5 separate regions of the Homo sapiens genome follow, and all the other regions are linked to region 1. Evidence: promoter capture Hi-C in 16 types of primary human blood cells and fetal thymus (Javierre and others, 2016). All regions are on one chromosome and are shown on one strand. The core of a region is centred on a gene start or on the middle of the fragment in contact, and the rest is flanking DNA. Distances in the headings are between cores, read along the strand shown. Region 1 holds the start of METTL21A (methyltransferase 21A, HSPA lysine). Region 2 overlaps DYTN (dystrotelin). Region 3 overlaps FASTKD2 (FAST kinase domains 2). Region 4 overlaps PIKFYVE (phosphoinositide kinase, FYVE-type zinc finger containing). Region 5 overlaps PIKFYVE (phosphoinositide kinase, FYVE-type zinc finger containing).

Region 1 (4,047 bases), core at 415-2,914:
GTAGCCCCAGTTACTCCAGAGGCTGAGGTGGGAGAATCACTTGAACCCAGGAAGCGGAGGCTGCATTGAGCCAGGATCGCACCACTGCACTCCAGCCTGGGCAACAGAACGAGACTATGTCTCAAAAGAAAAAAAGACTAACTCGTGTCCAAAGCAGTTGGGGGCTTTCCTTCCTATCCTCTCCGACAAGTCATTAACTTTCCTCAGCTTTCATTTACACCTTTAAAATGTAATCTATGTGGAGGGACAAGAGGAGTGACTAAGGGATACGGGTTTGAGAGTGGCAGTGATAGTAAAACTTTTAAAATTGAAGCGGTAATAGTTGCACTACTCTGTGAATATACTGTATTTTTAAAACCGCACTGAATTGTGCACTTTAAATAGGTAAAGTGTATGCTATGTGAATTATATCTCAATAAAGCTGTTCTAAAAAAAATAAAAAATAAAAGCCAGTCTTGCAAGTGTGAACGTTTTCAGAGGTCCCCCAGGGCTTACTTACCGCATCCCAAACCACCGCTGCGACTCCCAGGTGTCTCCAGTCCTGCCGGATCTGGATCGTGTGGTTTGCAAAGGAAAAAGTTGCAAGAGGCTTGTGGAATTTCTGCAACCCAAATTCCGTGGTCTCCTCATAGGGCACGAGGGCCATTCCGCCTGCACCCCGCCCTCTGCTCAGACCTGCCGTGCAAAAGAATCCTGGGTGACGCTCTGGCCAAAAGATACATTATCTGTTCTTAACTAACTCCAAATGCTTTTAAGGTCGTTTACAAGTTCAAAAGAAAAAAAGAAACAGGTGGAGGAAGCCTTTGTCCAATTTCTTTTGCATGGCTCTTCCGAATCTGAGTGAGATTTGGCTCGGAATTTGTGTCAACGGATGTGTTTGGGGAAGAAGAAAAAAAAAGCCCAGAACATTCCAACTTCCGCAGAATACCCTATACACTGCACTGCTACCACTCCGTGAATTCAGAACTACACAAGCGGCGGAAGCGGCGGTGATCGCCCAGGGCCCCAGAGCAGCGCGGAAAGCAGCGCTTCCAACCCAGACCCGGGCGCCCGGACTGCAGCTGCAGCCAGCCGGGCGGCCCGGGTTCTTTCGCTACGGTTTCGCTACCCACCTCCCCTCCTCCATCGGCTGCTTCGATAGTGATAACAATGGGACAGAACCTGCCCTTAGACTGGGTGTTAGCGGTTTGATAAACCAGAAATACATGGTCGCCGCAGTTCCGTCTCCCCGACCCTGGAAGTGAGCGACACTGGGGGCCTCCAAGCGGCTCGCGGGGACAGCGGGGACTCGGAGGCCTCCCCGAACTCCCCCTATAGCTGCCCCCCACTCACCCCTCTCCCGGGACGACCAGTGCGCCCTTCCTGCCCGGGGGCCCCGGAGCTGCGGCAACCCTCCAGGGGTGAGAGGGAGACCAGGCGAGGGGGGTCACAGGGCCTCTTAGGATCCCCAGGCCATACGGGGCGCCGTGAGCTGCCCGGCGGAGCACCCAGGGCTCGCCCAGGCCGGGCTGAGGCGCCGCCACGCCGGTACTTACGGCCCGGGAGGCGGTCCCGCGTGGAGCGCGCGCTCCGCTTTCCCCGCCCCGGGCTGGCTGCGAAAACCGCCGGCCTTAAAGAGCCCGCGACGCGGGGGCGGGCGGCCCCGGCCCGGAGCCACGCATTTCCGGTCTCCCGGCACCCAGCCTCCGGCAGGTGCCCCCGGAGCTCACGGCGAGGGCGGGGCCGGGCCGTGGCGCGGTGGAGGAGTGACGTTGCGGGAGGGGGGACCGGGGCTTTCCCTCGTGCGTCCCCAGGGTACACGGACGACTTAATCCGTTTCCCCCGCCGCCGAGGGAGGCGCTGTGGGGGCGGGAGCAAGAGTGAGATCGGGGTGCCGAACTGCCGCGGGTGCACAGGGAGAGCATGGGGTGCCCTGGGCTCTCCTAGCGGGAGAGAAAAGCCACCCACCTGGCGCTGAATGTGCCTCTCGACCTTTTCTATCATGTGCTCCGCCGCTCTCTGCCTCTGACTTTGTCGCTTGCGCGTTGTGCCTGTTTTTTAAAGGTGGCGCGTTAGCGGATGATGGAGACAGCTCGCTCCGAAGAAGGCATGGTCACTCTAGTCCCCGCGTCTCCACGGTGGGGTCAGAAGCGGCGTAATAGCCCGCTTGGCGGCAATCGAGTGGAAAAGTCACAAAACCCTTTTCAACTAAAGCACAGTGGGGGAAGTGAACACGTGGCGCCCGAGTCCAAGTTTTTAAAGTGGGGCGGGGGTCGGCGGGCTCTGGCTGCAGTCGGAAGCGCGGAGCTCTGGGCGTGCGCTCGGCTCCAGCCCCGGCCCCAGGCGGCGCTGCAGACTCCAGTGCCCCAGTCTCCCTCCTCCCGATGCCAAGACGCACCTGCCCGTGAGGACCCACGCTGGACGTGGAAGGTGCCGAGGGCCTGGTACCCTGGCCGCAGGCCCTGGCAGAGCGCGCGGCTGGAGTGGGTCCATTGAGTGGGACCGTGCGGGGACCGGCATCCTCCCGGGGCAGGCTTCTTTTTCCTCCTGGGGCCCCTCGCCCCACACCGCCCGCTGCGCTCTCAGCGCGGCTGCACGTTAGAACCAGCTGGGGTAAACCTCCCTTACCAGTCCCCCGCCCCAAGAGCTGGCCATGGGAGGGGGCCCGAGCGCTGATTTTTTTGTTTGGTTTTTTGCTTTTGTTTTTGTTTTTGTTTTTGTTTTGAGACGGAGTCTCTCTCTGTCGCCCAGGCTGGAGTGCAAGGGCGCGAACTCGGCTCACTGCAGTCTCCGCCTTCCGGGTTCAAGCGATTCTCCTGCCTCATTCTCCCGTGTAGCTAGGATTACAGGCCTGCGCCAGCACGCCAGCTAATTTTTGTGGGATTTTGTTTGTTTGTTTGAGACGGAGTCTTGCTCTGTCGCCAGGCTGGAGTGCAGTGGCGCGATCTCGGCTCACTGCAGCCTCCACCTCCCGGGTTCAAGCAGTTCTCCTGCCTCAGCCTCCAAAGTAGCTGGAATTACAGGCGCCCGCCGCCACACCCGGCTTTTTTTGTGTTTTTAGTAGAGACGGGGCTTCACCATGTTGGCCAGGCTGGCCTTGAACTCCTGATCTCCGGTGATCCGCTCATCTCAGCCTCCCAAAATGCGGGATTACAGGTGTGAACCACTGCCACCTCCCCCACCCCTACCGCCCGAGCGCTGATTTTTTTTTTTTATTATTATTATTCAGAGTTTCGCTCTTGTCACCCAGGGTGGAGTGCAATGGCATGATCTCGGCTCACTGCAACCTCCGCCTCCCAGGTTCAAGGGATTCTCCTGCCTCAGCCTCCAAGTAGCTTAGATTAAGGGGCCCACCACCACGACTGGCTAATTTTTGTATTTTTAGTAGAGACGGGGGTTTCACCACGTTGGCCAGACTGGTCTCGAACTCATGACTAAAGGTGATCCACCCGCCTCGGCCTCGCAAAGTGCTGGGATCACAGGCATGAGCCACCGCGCCCGGCAAGCGCTGATATTTTTAAGAGCTCCCGGGGCCGCCCCCGGGAGCCTGCTTCCCGCGGTGGGAGCCTGGCGGGGGCCTGAACCTCTCTCTCCTGGCCTCTTCCGTCCTGTAGGCGGCGTCCCCGGCCTCCAGATTAATCTTCCATCGGAAGGTGGGGCCTGTGGCTTCGAGGGTAACCTCAGGGAACTTGGAAGACCACCAGTGAGGGACTTTTACCTCCTTTTTCGTTTTCTTTTTTGGTCCTCTCGCTTTCTCTCTTAGTATTTCCTTTCTCTCTTACCTCCTGCACTTGGTGTTTCTGCCTCTCAGCTTTCCCTTTATCGAAGACCTCCCTTTCTTGCCTTTATTTTCTCTCTGTCCCTTTTTGCAGGGAGAACCAGCAATGGGCACAAGAAAGAACATGTATGGGCTTTGGGGCCAGACAAATATGGAAAATTTAAATTATTCCTCTGACTCTTTAAATGGGATGACTTTGGGAAATTACTAAACCTCGCTAGATCCCAGGCTGCTCATCCCTGAAGCCTGGCATGGAGCCTTGGGCCCCTTCTGTTTTTTCTCCCTATTCT
Region 2 (4,047 bases), core at 581-3,080, 940 kb before region 1:
TTCTCAGTTCCCTAAAAATGTTGAAGTTATATTGAAAAATGTTATAAAAAGAACTACAGAAATAGAGTGCGGAAAAAAAAAAAAAAAGCTACACATTTCCAGTGGATGCCACTTTGCATTCTTCCTTGGAGGGTATCTACAAACTTCATAAGCAATGCCACCTGGCCACAGACCCTTTGCTGTGGGGAGTGCTCAGCTACTTTCATTATTAGCGAGTCAGAGAGAAGTTTCCTTTTGCCCCCATGATCTTACTTTCCAGCACAGCTCCAATGGCTGTCACAACAGGTTTTCTGTGCCTTTTTTGGTACAAGAACAGGTAAGTCACAGGAAACGTTTTCTGTGAAATGATCTTGCAAACAGCATTAAGAAATTCTGTTGAATTTCAAAGAAAAGATATGATTAAAGGTGACTTTTGGAAGTAGAAGCCTCGAAGAAATGAGGAGGAAAAATAATTGTAATTTAAGGAGTCCATTTCATTTCTGATACAGAATAATCACAAAAACAAGTATATACTGCTGGCTTTAGTTCCCCATGAACGATAACCAGCAGGATATCCACAAGGCCACCCCTGTTTTCTGTGCTTCCCTCCTCCTGGGCTGAGTCCTGCAGAGCTGCAATAGGAAGTTCTCTGTGACCAGGTGGTTAGCATGAAGACGCATGTCGATGGTGGCCTCAAATTCCACTTTGAAGTTGGTCTTCAGCATGCGGCAGGTAAACAGCCTGGAGAAGACCATGTATATAGGGACAGAGAGGCCCCTACAAATGTCCCCATGGGCATCTGAATATAAGGAAACTCTGTGGCATCATTGGCATAGCTTTTTGCACACCCACAGGTCTCCATGTGCACCAGTTGCAGCCCCATGCCTTTTCACCACCAGCTCTCCTGTAAGCAGCTGCACGATGACACAATTCATTGAGTTGGGGTGTTCTCGAATGAGAAATCTGGGGAGCAAGGCTCTCTCTTTGATATTCTGTAAGGTTGCAGGTATAATCTGTGAAGTCCACAGGACTTGGAGTCAACTTCCCCTCCTGAGGAGCAGAGTGGATGGTAAATTCACCGGCCTTTGTCAAGTCCTTGGTCAACAGAGACTGCCTCATGTCACAGCGTAGTGTATACTGAATGTCTGATAATAAGTCTCATACAGAACTTTGTTACCCCTCACATACAGAAGAAATGCGAAATAAATTTGTTTTGCCATAGGGAAATTTCCCTGGCTTCATCCTTTCTATGGCACTGTTGATAATCTGGATAGGTTTAATGGAATTATAAAAAGCTTCAAAACTGCCCACACTTTTGGCACTGAGCTGGGGGATTGCAATTCCTTCCATTGTCAAAGACACTACTTGATGTGGGACTGAATCCTTACAAGATACGACCACCACACTGGAGAGCATTTCTCCAGCATGAGAAACTATTTGCTCTTCCATCTTGATGTCCAGGGAGGTCCCTGTTTTGAATTCTCCACAGCAGCCAACACTTCTGACCTCACATCAAGTTTTTCTTATCAATTTTTCAGGGACCCTTTTAATAGCATCATTTATCTTATTACCGAAAATATTTTTCTAAGTCTAGGGCTTATTTTTAATTTTGTTTATACTATCATTTACCATAACAAAATGTTTAAAATTACATGCTATCATATATATCTGTCTATTCCTTCATGATTTTTTGTTTTTCTTTCTTCCTTAGGAGATGTTCTTTTTTCTAATATTTATTTTAAATTCTTTTTACATTTAAATTTCAATCAATTTGGAATTTGTTTTAGTATATGGGGCAAAATAAGGGCCAATTTTCCTTTCAGATGGATAGCCAATTATGCATTATTTTTCCATGAATTGAAATATCACCTTTATCATATATTAGGTTCCCATATATGCTTAGATCAATTATTATATTTTGTATTCTCATCCTTAGACCTACATGTTCATTCCCGTTTTATACTATATTATTTGGTCATAGTAGTTTTATAGTAAGTGTTAATATCTGTTGTATTAACATCTGTTCTTCAGATATTAATGTCTCTCACTATTCTTCAGTCTCATAATTTTACTATTCTTGTACAACTATTCTTCCAACATACCTTCAAAATTATTTTATCCTATTTAGAAAACCTTGTGATTCTATCTGGAAATGCATTAAATTTAAATACAGTAGATTATGCTCTATAAGGCTACCATGAACAGTGAATTAGGAAATACTGAACCCATTGTTCCTAGAGAAAATACAGGGTTAGGTTCCTGCAAGCCTCTGGCCACAATATTTTTGTCAACCAATCAATGCACAACCTTGTTTTATGTGTTTCTGTATAAAGATGCTTTTTAAATATATATTGTTGATTCATTAGCATTAAACTCATGGTCAACAGCAATATAAATCATACCTGAATGAAGCTTATTTAACGTGTGTATTTTTTCATTAAGGCACATCGTAGCCTTGCTGTGCTTGGGAACACTAGACAGCAATTCAGTACCGTGCTTTGGGGCCATTTGCCAAAGTAAAATCACCAACAAAAAGCACAAATATAAAAAAACAAGACACAAAATAGACACGAAAAGGACACTTGCTTATAGAATGAGGGCTGAAACAGTAACACAGAGCACTATCTGGTTTGACCTCAGCTGGGAACACGTGCATCAGGCAACTCAAAATTTTTTTGCCACTCTGCTTATGTCTGCAAATACTGAAAAAGCACCAGGAGTGTTAATTTTAGGGTTACAAATAAATTTTTGCAAGTAGGCAAATTTGTAAGTATTGAATCTGCAAATAACAAAAATCAGCTATTAATTTTTGGAGCAGGTACATTCTTATGCTAGTCTTCTCATTTAGAAATTTGGCATTTTTTCCTTTTGTTCAGGACTTGTTTTCTGTACTCAATAAAATATTATAATTTTATTTGGGTCTTGTATCTTTTTTGTTAAACTTTTTTGTAGTTTCTTTTAAAAATAATTTTTACATGTATTTTGAATGAGATTCTTACAAAATTTATAGCTGGTTATTGCTAGTAGAGTGAAGAATTTTGTATATGTTTATTTTATTTTTCCACCATCATTTGAAGCCTATTAATTCTAGTAATTTTTGCTAGTTACTTGGGGTTTCTTAGTAATTCACAATTAAATTAGCTACAAAGAGAAGTAATTCTGTCTGTTATTTTTCTGCAGTTTAATTTTCTTTTTAACTATGTTTTCAAGAACTTCCTGAAATATTTAATAAGAGTGATGATATTTGGCACCTAACTTTCAGTTCTGGTTTTGTAAATGAAAGTATTCTCAGTGCAAACTATCATGTGTAAAGGAAATAAAACCACATCAAAAGGGAGAAGGCTTATTACCATGCAGATAGTTTGCTGAATCATTGAACGAATTCAATATTATCACTTGGCCATAACCATTAATCTCTTAGAAGATGGTCAGTGCTAGTGTGCCAACATAATAGATATCAAAGATGTGTTTTTTACTATTATTACATTGTGATTTAGTAATATTCCACATTCTTTTCTCCTAGATGAGCCACAAATCAGAATTTCTGAACTCATCAAAGTCTAGGGTACACTGAAAATTATTACATAAGAATGTTATTTTGGGGAACAACTCTACTGTACTTGGGGTGGACAGAGTACAACTCATTGACGTTTAGAGAACCCTGGCTTTGTACAGCCCTTGTAATTCCCTTTCCTCATCTCACCTCCAGAAATACTACTCTGGGAGTAGAGAGGAGAGGTTATCCCAATTAACAGGTAAAGAAACTGAGTCCTAGAAAAGTGAAGTGACTTCCTCATGGCCACACACGTGGTTAGTTGAGGGCAAAGCTTCTGTCTCTGTTCCAGATTCAGTCAAACCTCATTATCTTGTTCCAAAGCTCCTTGATTCTTTCCAGCTACATTCTAAAAGAGCTCATGGTTCACCTTATCTATCCATCCATCAATCCCTCCATCATGCGCTATACATTTTATTATTCATTCATTCATTCAGTCAGTCAGTCATTCAACAAATATTTATTGAGGATTTATCATATTCAGACATTATTATAGATTCTGGCAATACAACTGG
Region 3 (4,047 bases), core at 506-3,005, 850 kb before region 1:
TCCGTGTTTATACTTTGTTCTTGTTAGATTTCAAATAATAAAGATGGGTGATGTGACAGGCTTGGGGTTTTTGAAGAATAAAATGTCACTACTTAATGGTCATGTCCATTGTTTTATCCAGAGTAAAAGCCTTTAAAATCAGGAGCTGTGTTAAGAATATAAACATTTAATGAAGCACCTGGTAAAAACTTCTTTTTGCAATGAAATAGGTGATAACTGTTAGATCTCTAGGTTCAGTTTATTTTGGAGAGTAAGGTAAATATTGAGTTTACTGTGGAAATTGGTTATAGAAAGAGAAGTAATAATCCTAAGTAAGAAAGATTGAGAAGGAAATTGGAGGTGAACTTGAAAGTTTATTTTAATCATAATGTTTCAGTTCCATTTTCACTTATAGGTATGAATATTAAATATAGAAATTTTGGGGTTATGTCTTACATGTTAGAATCTAGGAAGTATTTAAGTTTGGGAATGCGAGAAGTTCAAGATTGAGTTGGTCATTTTGAAAACCTTCAGAAAAGGCATATTTAAAAGTAATTTTCAGATATGTTGTATGAAAAGCATGTAGGAAGAGATTTATTTTTAAATCAGATGGAAACGTAGAAATCATTGTATGCCCTGGTTCTCAGCTTAAAAAAGATTGCTTATTAACTTGATACCCAATTCAAGAATTAATAGAACAGATTTTGTGAGAGAAAGATGATTGTTCCTTTTCATGGAAATATTCTGTTTCAGGATATATTCTGTTGATCAGGACAGTTGAATTGCTGCTTAGATTTTTTGAGATCTAAAAAATTACTATTAGCATACTGTAATTATTATAGAGTTTTCCCTCAATTTTCTCTTTTTAAGGTTCTTTTTATCCTCATTTTATTTGAAAACCTTGGCTTTCGACCTGTTGGTTTAATGGACCTGTTTATGAAGAGAATAGTAGAGGATCCTGAATCCCTAAACATGAAAAACATTCTATCTATTCTTCATACTTACTCTTCTCTCAATCATGTCTACAAATGCCAGAACAAAGAGTATGTACTTGTTTTTTTTTACCTTTTTTATTGCCATATAACTTACAAAAAAGGTTATAAATCATAAGCTTAATGAATTATTACAAGTGAACACACCCATAGTCATCATCCATGCCAATAAATAAAACATAGTGTTCCTTACTCATTTATAAGGTTAAACAAAATTTTGTTTTATATTTGCTGCCCTTTGTCTTGTTTGTTTCTTTGTTCTTTATAATGTATTAGTTAATTCATTATAGGAGTTTGATTTCAAACCCTCCCAGCTTATCCTCGTAGCTCCTAAGTTCATAGTTTATTTTAACTGTATTAAAAAATGGAGAAATCTGTCTTTTAAAAAATTTGACTTTTTTTATTATGGTAAGAACATTTAGTAAATTTTAAAGTGTGCAGTACAATATTGCTGACTTTATTATTAATGATATAGTTAACAATATTGTACAGTGGATCTCTAGGACTTAATCATCTTGCATAACTGAAACTTTATACCTGTTGAATAGCAACTCCCCTATTTCCCCCTTTCCTCACCCCTGACAATCAACATTGTAATCTCTGTTTCTATGACTGACCTTTTTAGATACTTTATATAAGTGGAGTCATGCGGTATTTGTCCTTCTATGACTAGCTTATTTCAGTTAGCATAATGCCCTTCAAGTTGATCCACATTGTAGCATGTGATGAGATTTCCTTCTAAGGCTGAATAATATTCCATTATATGTATATATCACATTTTCTTTATCCATTCATCTGCTGATGGATGTTTAGGTTGTTTCCCTATCTTGGCTATTGCAAACAATGCTGCACTTAACATGGGAGTGCAGATGTCTCTTTGAGATTCTCATTTCAATTCTTATGAATTGAAATATATCCACAAGTGAGATCCCTGGATCATACAGGGATTCTGCTTTTACTAAGGGTTCTACTTTTACCAAATGCCTTTTTTTTTTTTAGCATCAGTTGAAATGATCATATGGTTTTTATCCTTTATTCTGTTGATATGATGTATCATATTGATTGATTTGCATATGTTGAACCATCCTGGCATCCCAGGGATAAATCCTGCTTGGTCATAATGAATAATCTTTCTAATGTATTGTTGAATTTGGTTTGCTAGTATTTTTTTTGAGGATTTTTGCATCAATCTTCATCAGAGATACTGTGCTGTAGTTTTTTTGTTTGTTTTTTGTTTTTTTTGATGTGTCTTTGTCTGATTTTGGTATCAGGGTAATACTGGACTTGTAGAATGAGTTTGGAAGTATTCCCTCCTTCTCTGCTTTTTGGAATAGTTTGAGTAGGATTAGTATTAGTTCTTCCTTAAATGTTTGGTAGAATTCAGCAGTGAAGCAGTTTGGTCCTGGGCTTTTCTTTACTAGGTAGTAGTTCTACTTTTACATTTTTCAAGGAAGCTTCATACTGTTTTCCATGCACCATTTTGTAGTCCTATCAACATTGTGCAAGGGTTCCAATTTCTCCACATCTTCTCCAACACTTGTTAGATTTTGTTTTGTTTTGTTTTTTTGATAATGGCCGTCCTAACAGATGTAAAGTGATATCTCATTGTGGTTTTGATTTGCATTTCCCTGATGATTAGTGATGTTGACCATGTTTTCACATACCTGTTGGCCATTTGTATGTCTTCTTTGGAGAAATATTTAAGTCCTTTGCCTATTTTTAAATCATATTATTATTTTTGCTATTCAGTTACAGTATGTTATAATGTGTAAACATACTACAAATATATATATAATATATATATTATGGGATGCAGAAAAAGCAATCCTGACAAGAAAACTTAAAGCATTAAGTTTTATATAAACTTATAGCAATAAGCATAAATATATGAGTTACAGGAATTCCTTATATATTTTGGATAATAACTGCTTATCATATGTATGGTTTGCAAATATTTTCTCCCATTCTGTAGGTTGCTTTTTCACTTTGTTGACTGTTTCCTTTGCTGTGCAGCTTTTTAGTTTGATATAGTTCTCCTTGTCTGTATTTGCTTTTGTTGCCTGCACTTTTGGTATCATATAAAAAAAATCATTGCCTAACTAAGCCAATGCCATCAGGCTTCTCCTACACATTTTCTTTTAGGAATTTTGTAGTTTTAGGTCTTATGTTTAAATCTTTAATCCATTTTGAGTTGATTTTTGTGTATGTTATAAAATAAGGTTCCAATTTCATTCTTTTGCATGTGGATATCCAGTTTTCCCAACACCTTTTGTTGAAGAGCATATTCTTTTACTATGTGTAGTCTTGGCAGCTTTGTCTTTTTTATGCCAGTACCATACTGTTTTAATTACTGTAGCTTTGTAATATATTTTGAAATCAGGAAGTGTGATACTTCTAGCTCTGTTCTTTTTCAAAATTGCTTTGGCAGTTCAGATTCCTTTGTGGTCCTATATGAATTTTAAGTTTTTTTTCTATTTCTGTAAAAAAATGCCATTGGGATTTTGATAGTGATTGCACTGAATCCGTAGACTGCCTGGGTTAGTATGGACATTTTAACAGGATTAAGTCTTTCAATCCATGAATGCAGACTGTCCTTCCATTTATTTGTGTCTTTAATTTCTTTCATCAATTTCTTTGTAGTTTTCAATATACAAGTCTTTCACTTCCTTAAGTTTATTCCTAAGTATTTTATGCTTTTTGATACTATTATAAACAAGATTGTTTTCCCAATTTCCTTTTTGGATAGTTTGTTATAAGTGTATAGGAACACAGCAGATATTTTTACTGCTTCCTTTCTGATTTGGTTGTTTTTCTTTCTTTTTCTTTCATTTGCATAATTACTCTGGCTAAGATTTCCAGTACCTTGTTGAATAGAAGTGATGAGAGTAGGCATCCTTGTCTTGTTCCTGGTCTTAGAAGAAAATATTTGTTTTTCATCATCGAATATGATGTTAGCTATGGCTTTTCATATATGGTCTTACTTACGGTGAGGCACATTTCTTCTATACCTAATTTGTTGAGAGCCCTTATCATAAAGGTTGTTGAATTTCATCAAATGGTTTTTCTGCATCTAATT
Region 4 (4,047 bases), core at 708-3,207, 690 kb after region 1:
AGAGAAAAACATTTCTCTATCTGACATTTGAATTAAGGAGAATTGTTTTCACGGCTCTATTGTGTTATTAATGCAAGTCTGCTTAAGTTTAGTATGAAGTGCATAGAACAAGTATAAAGAGGCATTTTTACCCAAAGCTTTCTTGAATTTGCCGGGCAGTGATGGGTTTAGTATGAGTAATATTTTGTGTGTGGGCGTATTCTCTATATAATTATGCTGACATGTTATAGTCATATGTCTCTACTTTTGTTCCTCCTCTCTGTTGTCTCCCTGGTATGCAGAGTATTTGATTTCTGACACTGGAGGACAACAGCTCTCAATAAGTGACGCTTTCATCAAAGGTAATTTTATAAAAAGCTGTATGTGGAATGGTGTCTCTTTTTTTCATGAGGATATACTTAGGGCTTAGCACATTGATTAGCACAGAGAAGGTGCTGAAAATATATTTGATTATGGTGGTATCATGGGAACACAGTTTTTAATATATATAATGATTTAGAGAATGTTGAGAACCAAGAATGTAAACTTGGACTTGGTTTGCGAGAAGGAGGTCTCTGATGTGAAAAGTAATTGTTTAAAAACTTTTAAGTAGAATTTGAACTTAATTCTTTTAAAGACATAGTTTACACTTAACTGTATTGTGAATATAATATTAAGTATTGATATAAATATCATCAAGGATTGTCAAATTTGTCAAAAAGCCCACAGGCAGATCTCCAGTTAAGGATGCTGCTTGCCCTGTGGAGTGAGGAAGAGAAGCAGGCAGTAGAGGTTAAAGAACTAACTCTGATGATAAATTTCTTTTGGACACAAAAGGAGATTAGCCTTCTCCTATTCCTTCCCTACTTAGCTTAGCTTAGCTTCCTAGAGTAAAGACATTCTTAGTCCATAGTACTCCACTGGTTAGGCCTCAGATAATGGGAGAAAATTTCTCTTCCTTCTTGGCTCCCACGGTTTCAGATCAAAGAGAGAAGGCAAGCGGGTACAAGGAGCCACTGCAGCTTATCTGATAGCTTGGCAGTGCTTCTAAATTCATCTCCAAGCATCTGGTTCGGCTAGAAGTTTACAGAGTGGCCCTTTATGTAATTGAAATGTGCAATTCTTGTACTTCACATGTCATGGACATATACTTTACTGTGTAATCTGCTGGGCTGTTTGGTGGAAGTTTTTTTGTTTGTTTGTTTTGCTTTTAAGAGGGGACAGGTTAGAGAATTTTTGTAAGCATTTCCCACTTCTTTTCTTTCCACTTATTTGGTCAGATTATTCAACAGTTATTTAGTGAACATATTTTTTTGTTAAGCATTTATTATTTATTTTTTGTCTTATCTATTTTCATTCATCCTTTAAAAAATTTAAAGATTTTACACAAATTCTACATAAATGCTATTTATTATGTTTTAATATTTATGTTTTTGAGTCTGTCTTGCTAAAATTTTGTTAAAAAACCCCTGTGCCAATATTGAAAGAGAAACACTATTGAGGATTGTCTGAATAGACTTTCTACACTGTCATCTGTTGTTTTGTGATATCTGAGCTGAGCTTCTTTCTTGAAAATTCATCACTCTCGCTATCATGTGTTCTTTTGCCAGCATTCAGATTTCTGTTGAATGCAGTTTTCAGTTTGTGATTTTTTTTTTTTTTTTTTTGAGATGGAGTCTCGCTCTGTCACTCAGGTTGGAGTGCAGTGGTGCGATCTTGGCTCACTGCAATCTCTGCCTCCTAGGTTCAAGTGATTCTCCTGCCTCAGCCTCCCTTGTAGCTGGGATTACAGGCGTGTGCCAACACGCCCAGCTAATTTTTGTGTTTTTAGCAGAGATGGAGTTTCGCCATGTTGGCCAGGCTGGTCTCGAACTCCTGACCTCAGGTGATCTGCCCACCTCGGCCTCCCAAAGTGTTGGAATTACAGGCGTGAGCTACCACGCGCGGCCCAGTTTGTGATTTTAAAGGGGAAATTAACACCCTCGTTTTTAAAAATTAAAAGGAGAAGCAAAAGTTTCATTTTATTTGCTTTTCAGAAGCTGTGCTTATAATTATTGGCTTGAGAGTCTTAGTTACGTACATTTGATTTTCACAGTTCTGTTTCTGATTTTGGCTGTTGCCAATTACTGCTCTTCTTAATTCTTGCATTTCTGTATTTTTAGTGTATTTTATGTATTTGTAAGTATTTTCTTATGCATTTTATTTATATGTTTATTACATGTTCTTGCCTTTTTACACCAATAATTTATGTTGGCTAACTTAAAACATTTATAAAGACAAAGGGCAATTTCTAAATATATGAGTAGATGGTATAAAACAGGACAATGAAGTAATAACTTCTTATTTTATATTGTACTTAGAATCCTTATTTAATCGCCGAGTAGAGGAAAAATCCAAAGAGCTGCCTTTCACACCTTTGGGCTGGCATCATAACAACCTGGAGCTCCTGAGGGAGGAGAATGGGGAGAAACAAGCCATGGAGAGGTTGCTGTAAGGCAATGAAATTTTTAATTTTAATTTTTCACTTTTATTATCTTCAGTGACTTGATAAGCATATGCATCATTCCTCTTAAAAAGGGAGGTCTTTTTCTTTTTCCTTAGAAAGTAAAAAAATACTAAGGTTACTTAGGAAATACAGTCTATTTTGACTTGTGATTAAATTTCTTATAAAACCAAGAGCCCCGGCTGGGTGCAGTGGCTCACGCCTGTAATCCCAGCACTTTGGGAGGCTGAGGCGGGAGGATCACAAGCTCAGAAGGTTGAGACCAGCCTGGCCAACATGGTAAAACCCCGTCTCTACTAATAATACAAAAATTAGCCAGGCGTGGTGGCGCTGGCCTGTAATCCCAACTACTCAGAGGCTGAGACAGGAGGATTGCTTGAACTCAAGAGGCGGAGGTTGCAGTGAGCTGAGATCGCGCCACTGCACTCCAACCTAGGCAACAGAGCAAGACTTCGTCTCAGAGAAAAAAAACAAAAACAAAAGCCCCAAACTGTGCTTGTCTGTCCCCATTTTACGTGTTAAAATTTCATTTCAGTCAATTGCAGGGGACTTCTTAGTGGAAGATATTCAGATTTCATTTATATGCAAAATCCTTAAGGTACAGATATAATGAAAGAATGATATTGACCTAGAAAATCTTATCTGTGAGCCGTAATTGAAATGTTTATTTCTTTGTAGGCTGTTTGTTTTATCATCAGAATTATTGTCTCTGGCAGTATTAACTATGCAAACTTCTTTCTTATAATATTTTTGTAGTTCAGCTAATCATAACCACATGATGGCACTACTCCAGCAGTTGCTCCATAGTGACTCACTGTCATCATCTTGGAGGGACATCATCGTGTCATTGGTCTGCCAGGTTGTTCAGACAGTCCGACCTGATGTCAAGAACCAGGATGATGACATGGATATCCGTCAGTTTGTCCACATCAAAAAAGTGAGCTCTGCTAATGTTTTACTAATGCTAGGAACTGATGAGGCAGGACTGATTGTAATTTTTGTCTTAATGGTAATCTGAAAAGAGTCATTACCCTGAGGGGTGCTAGGTGAGGAGTAGGAGGTTTTGCTGTCTGCTTTGTTAGCAGCGCACTTAGGAGTCATGGAAGCCACGCATAGGAAGTGAAAGGTCAATGGAAAGGATGAGTTATATCGGAGATGAGTTGGGAACCCAAACAGAGATAGGTTCTTCCTTTCTTGCTTCCTCTTCTTGACAAGTCAGCTATGAGAAAGCCTGTTCTCACAGATTGTGATCACTGTTTGGAGGAAAAGCAGTGGGTAATTTGCTTTATTTAGATCAAGCTTGTCCCACTCGTGGCCTGTGGGCTGCATGCAGCCCAAGACTGCTTTGAATCTGGCCCAACACCAATTCATAAACTTCTTAAAACATTATGACATTTTTTGCGATTTTTTTTTTTAACTTTTTTATGTCTCTTTCTTTTTTTTTAATTATTATTATACTTTAAGTTTTAGGGTACATGTGCACAATGTGCGGGTTAGTTACATATGTATACATGTGCCATGCTGGTGTGCTGCACCCATTAACTCGTCATTTAGCATTAGGTATA
Region 5 (4,047 bases), core at 528-3,027, 650 kb after region 1:
CATAGAGCTAGACCAGATTTTCTCTCTGGGTTTCTTTCATCTTCAGCCAACATCTGTGATTCTCTTGGTTCCAAGAAGGGTCTCACTCATCCTTTTTCAGCGGATGATGCTATTACTACTTTCTTATATTCCTAATTGGCTAAATGCCAGGGACTTCACAAGTTTTTGCCTGCTGCACGGAAGCACAGCCATTATGTTTCCAGTAGCTTCATCTGTCTTCTTTTTCAATTTGTAGATCATGGGGAGTTGTTTTTTGTTTTGAGACTCAAGTTTAGTTATTCTAATACAGTAGCAACACATCTGAGGTATGTGCTAAAATTAAGATATAACTTTATAGAAAGATAAAAGTTGCCAAAGTTTTCTAAAATAGGTACAATTTTGGTAGTTACTTCAGTGATTACATTATCTTGGGAAATTCTTTGTAAACTTTAGATCCCAACCTCTCATTTCTTTGTAATTCTTTTTTTTCCCTCCCAGCCAAAACAGCACCTATCTAGCAAATGGTGAGTTTGAGGAAGATTCAGAGTGGGGTATTTTCCAGTTTACTTTGCCATAGGTTATCAGTTTGATGGGTTTAAGCTAATAGGATGTTCATCCTTTTTGTCAAAACGTCTTTGCTTCATGCTTAGGTTTTGTAACTGCCAGAAATAGGCAGAAACTTCAGTTGTAATTTTGGTCTAAATTAAGGAAATAATAAGTGACAACTTTGGTGGGCATACCCTATTTTGGCCATGAGGCTGGAATTTGGGCTTATTAGTGATAGATTTGGCTTCAGTATTGCTATGTCAGGTATAAATGATCCTTTCCTATTTGGAGCTGTGGGGTTGGGGAAGTGACAGGGAAGGATAGGATTGGAGTTTTAGCAATTTTCTGGCAGTTTTAATTTGCTTGGACATAGGTCAGGTTTTACCATGGCAAAATTTGCCATCCTGGATGTTGTGAAGTCTGTCAGAATCTTTGAAGGCTGGGCTATTAAACTTCTTTCTGATCATCTTCTGTATGAGACTTTGGATATATGGTCTACAGATATAGACAGAACTGAACTGTTTGATCCTATTGCTTACCTGTTTGACTTTAGAGACCAAGCTAAGTTAACCCTCCTTGATTGCTTTTTCTTCTGCTAAATTTCTAGCATGCATTTATTATAGGTTGGACCAAAGGGCTTAAGGAGTCATTAATGAATTTTGGACCATTTAAGTGATGTTCCCATTCCAGGCCTGAAAACCATCAATGGTCTCAGACAATGCTTGTCTTAGGCAGCCTTGACTCGCTTGTAAAACAGCATTTTACATGAGAAGAAATACTTTCAGTAGCCTCTTACCCTTATAAAGACTTGTTTTAACTCTCAATTCATATAACCGGGTGGGAGAACATAATTATATGCCAACAATAAGAGGCAGTTTCCATCACATATATACCTTGTTGTATATAGATACTAGGGACTGTTAACAAGGTTGCTTTTTTTTTAATCCAACTCAGACACAAGAAGGAAAGCAGAACCTACCTTTGGAGGTCATGACCCTCGTACAGCTGTTCAGCTTCGAAGCCTCAGCACAGTATTAAAACGCCTCAAGGAAATCATGGAGGGGAAAAGCCAGGTACTGTCTAGAGGCTTTGGAAGATTACTTATTAAGCGCTTATGGGGATCATGCCATACCTAATGAAAATGGCTTAATGCCACTGAAAGAAAGCTTAATTAGCGCTTCCTCCAGCTGTGAGCACCCTATTTTTATACATAAGTTCTTAATTTTATTGTAGTCTAATTTATCAGTTTTTTTCCCGTTATCCTTAGTGCTTTTCGCGTTCTGTTTAAGAAGTGTTTATCTAGTTCAGGGCAGTAGATATTCTCCTATGGTTTCTTCAAGAAGCTTTATTATTTCTGTCAAGTATAGGGGTCAGGCTTCCATTTTTCCTCATGGATGTCCAGTTGGATATAGTACCATTGTTTTTGAAAAGACCATCTTTCACTGATTGCATTATAAATTCCACCGTAAGTCCATATATGTGTGAGGGTGTGTCAGGGCTCTCTTTTTCTGTTCCATACCTTTATTTTTTTCTATCCTTGTACCAGTACCCTGTCTAAAATTATTGTAGCATTAAGAATAAGTCTTGATGGCTGGTAATATTAAGTCCTTCAATTTGTTCTTCTTCAAGATTGTCTTGGTTATTTTGACCTTTCGTATTCCCATATGAATTTTTGAATTAGTTTGTTTTCTGCAAAAGAAACCTTTGAGGATTTCATTTGCCATTGCATATTAATAATCAGTATTTTCAAGAAGCCTTCACACATTTTTATTGTTATAGGATAGTGACCTGAAACAATACTGGATGCCAGATAGCCAATGTAAAGAGTGCTATGACTGTAGTGAGAAATTTACAACCTTTAGGCGCAGACACCATTGCCGACTATGTGGGCAGATTTTCTGCAGTCGTTGCTGTAATCAAGAAATCCCTGGAAAATTTATGGGCTATACAGGTAAATGCATTTTATTGCCAGTTTACAATTTTTAAAGGTCATAACTATAAGACACTTATAATACAGGATAGTGTTAAGCCAATTTTCATTTTGGGTTTTATGTGTAAGACATGGGGACACAAAGGTGAGGGAGACAGCTTTGCTTTTAAGAACTTTCCTATTGAATAATACAGTAGATGGGACTTATCATAAATAACTAGAGTAAAAGTGTATTTATTGTAGATGCTAGCAAAAAACTATAGGAACATTAAAATTTATTAGACAAGATCGTTAGAGTAGATTACTAATTTAAATCACTATGAGAGTTTTCATTTTAAAAGGACAGATCTTCCTTGACGTAATTACATGACACTGTGCTTTGGCAGTGAATTGTGTCTTACTCAGATTCCTCCATAAGGAACATAGTCAAATTTCAGCAGTACAGAAAATTTAAGTTATTTCTTGAAACAGAAAAAACTGAACAATGGTATGTTGATTTATACAGTGATTTGGGAGTAGAAGATAGTCAGAAATTACCTGAAAAACAAAACTCCTAACATCTCTCTCATGTTATTTTTGTTATTGTGAAGATCTTTCTGTCTGCTCATTTTTTTTTCCACCTAAACTACTACAGAGTTCAGAATCCCATTATCTGTCACCCAGAACCCCATTAGCTTTTACAACAGCTTTTTTGTTTGAAAATTACTTGTATTTCTTTTTTTTTTTGGTAATAATTTCAACTTTTATTTTAGATTCATGTTTGTTACAGGGGTATATTTAGTGATGCTGAGATTTTGCATATGACTGATCCTGTCACCCAGGTAGTGAGTATGGTATCCAGTAGTTAGTTTTTCAAACCTTGCTCCTCTTCCTCCCTCCCTGCTCTAGTAGTCCCCTTGTCTATTGTTGCCATCTTTATGTCCTCATGTACTCAGTGTTTAGCTCCCACTTGTAAGTGAGAGCTTGCGGCATTTGGTTTTCTGTTCTGTGTTAATTTACTTAGGATAATGGCCTCCAGCTGCATCCATATTGCTGCAAAGGACATAATTTTGTTCTTTTTTTATGGCTGCATAGTATTCCATGGTGTATATGTACCACATTTTCTTTATCCATTTCACCATTGGTGGCACCCAGGTTGATTCTGTATTTGCTATTATAAAAAGTGTTACAATGAACATACGAGTACATGTGCCTTTTGATAGAATGATTTATTTTCCTTTGGATATATACCCAGTAGTGGGATTCCTGAATCAAATGGTAGCAGTTCTGTTTTAAGCTCTTTGAGAAATCTTCAAACCGTCTTCCACAGTGGCTGAACTAATTTACATTCCCATCAGCAGTGTATAAGCATTCTCTTTTCTCTGCAGCTTTACCAGCATTCGTTTTTTGGCTTTTTAATAACAGCCATTCTGATTGGTGTGAGATGGTATCTTATTGTGGTTTTGATTTGCATTTCACTAATGATCATTGATGTGGAACATTTTTTCATGTTTGTTGGCCACTTGTAGGTCTTTTTTTGAGAAGTGTCTGTTCATGTCTTTTGCCCAATTTTTAATGGGGTCATTTGTTTTTTACTTGTTGAATTACGTTTC

Evidence for each region. Contacts are between HindIII fragments. The CHiCAGO score rates a contact against its expected background, and 5 or more counts as called.
Region 2: a fragment that was not itself captured here is called in contact with the fragment with the promoter of METTL21A in region 1 in 2 of 17 cell types (activated CD4 T cells and naive CD4 T cells); the score reaches 6.3 in activated CD4 T cells.
Region 3: a contact is called between a fragment that was not itself captured here and the fragment with the promoter of METTL21A in region 1, in 9 of 17 cell types (activated CD4 T cells, naive B cells, fetal thymus and 6 more). The highest score is 8.1, in activated CD4 T cells.
Region 4: a contact is called between a fragment that was not itself captured here and the fragment with the promoter of METTL21A in region 1, in 2 of 17 cell types (M0 macrophages and M2 macrophages). The highest score is 5.7, in M0 macrophages.
Region 5: a contact is called between a fragment that was not itself captured here and the fragment with the promoter of METTL21A in region 1, in 1 of 17 cell types (total B cells). The highest score is 5.4, in total B cells.

The regions. Positions count from the first base shown.
Region 1 is chr2:207,623,730-207,627,776 of GRCh38, forward strand. METTL21A (methyltransferase 21A, HSPA lysine) reads right to left here and starts at 1,665. Exons shown (of 4, transcript NM_001127395.5): 1 at 1,333-1,665; 2 at 500-675. The coding sequence starts at 646. RefSeq lists a silencer at 1,261-1,860 and enhancers at 2,131-2,835, 2,836-3,538. The HindIII fragment of the contact is 10,824 bases long and covers 1-4,047 here.
Region 2 is chr2:206,685,915-206,689,961 of GRCh38, forward strand. All of the region lies in intron 9 of DYTN (dystrotelin), which reads right to left. It also overlaps the pseudogene VPS26CP1. Among named protein-coding and RNA genes, the nearest start is that of DYTN, 30 kb to the right of the region's middle. The HindIII fragment of the contact is 1,117 bases long and covers 1,273-2,389 here.
Region 3 is chr2:206,773,376-206,777,422 of GRCh38, forward strand. FASTKD2 (FAST kinase domains 2) reads left to right here. Exons shown (of 12, transcript NM_001136193.2): 7 at 850-1,022. Among named protein-coding and RNA genes, the nearest start is that of MIR3130-2, 7.8 kb to the right of the region's middle. The HindIII fragment of the contact is 1,335 bases long and covers 1,089-2,423 here.
Region 4 is chr2:208,311,955-208,316,001 of GRCh38, forward strand. PIKFYVE (phosphoinositide kinase, FYVE-type zinc finger containing) reads left to right here. Exons shown (of 42, transcript NM_015040.4): 13 at 282-341; 14 at 2,340-2,469; 15 at 3,239-3,419. Among named protein-coding and RNA genes, the nearest start is that of PIKFYVE, 48 kb to the left of the region's middle. The HindIII fragment of the contact is 3,644 bases long and covers 136-3,779 here.
Region 5 is chr2:208,275,233-208,279,279 of GRCh38, forward strand. PIKFYVE (phosphoinositide kinase, FYVE-type zinc finger containing) reads left to right here. Exons shown (of 42, transcript NM_015040.4): 4 at 1,480-1,598; 5 at 2,305-2,476. Among named protein-coding and RNA genes, the nearest start is that of PIKFYVE, 11 kb to the left of the region's middle. The HindIII fragment of the contact is 177 bases long and covers 1,690-1,866 here.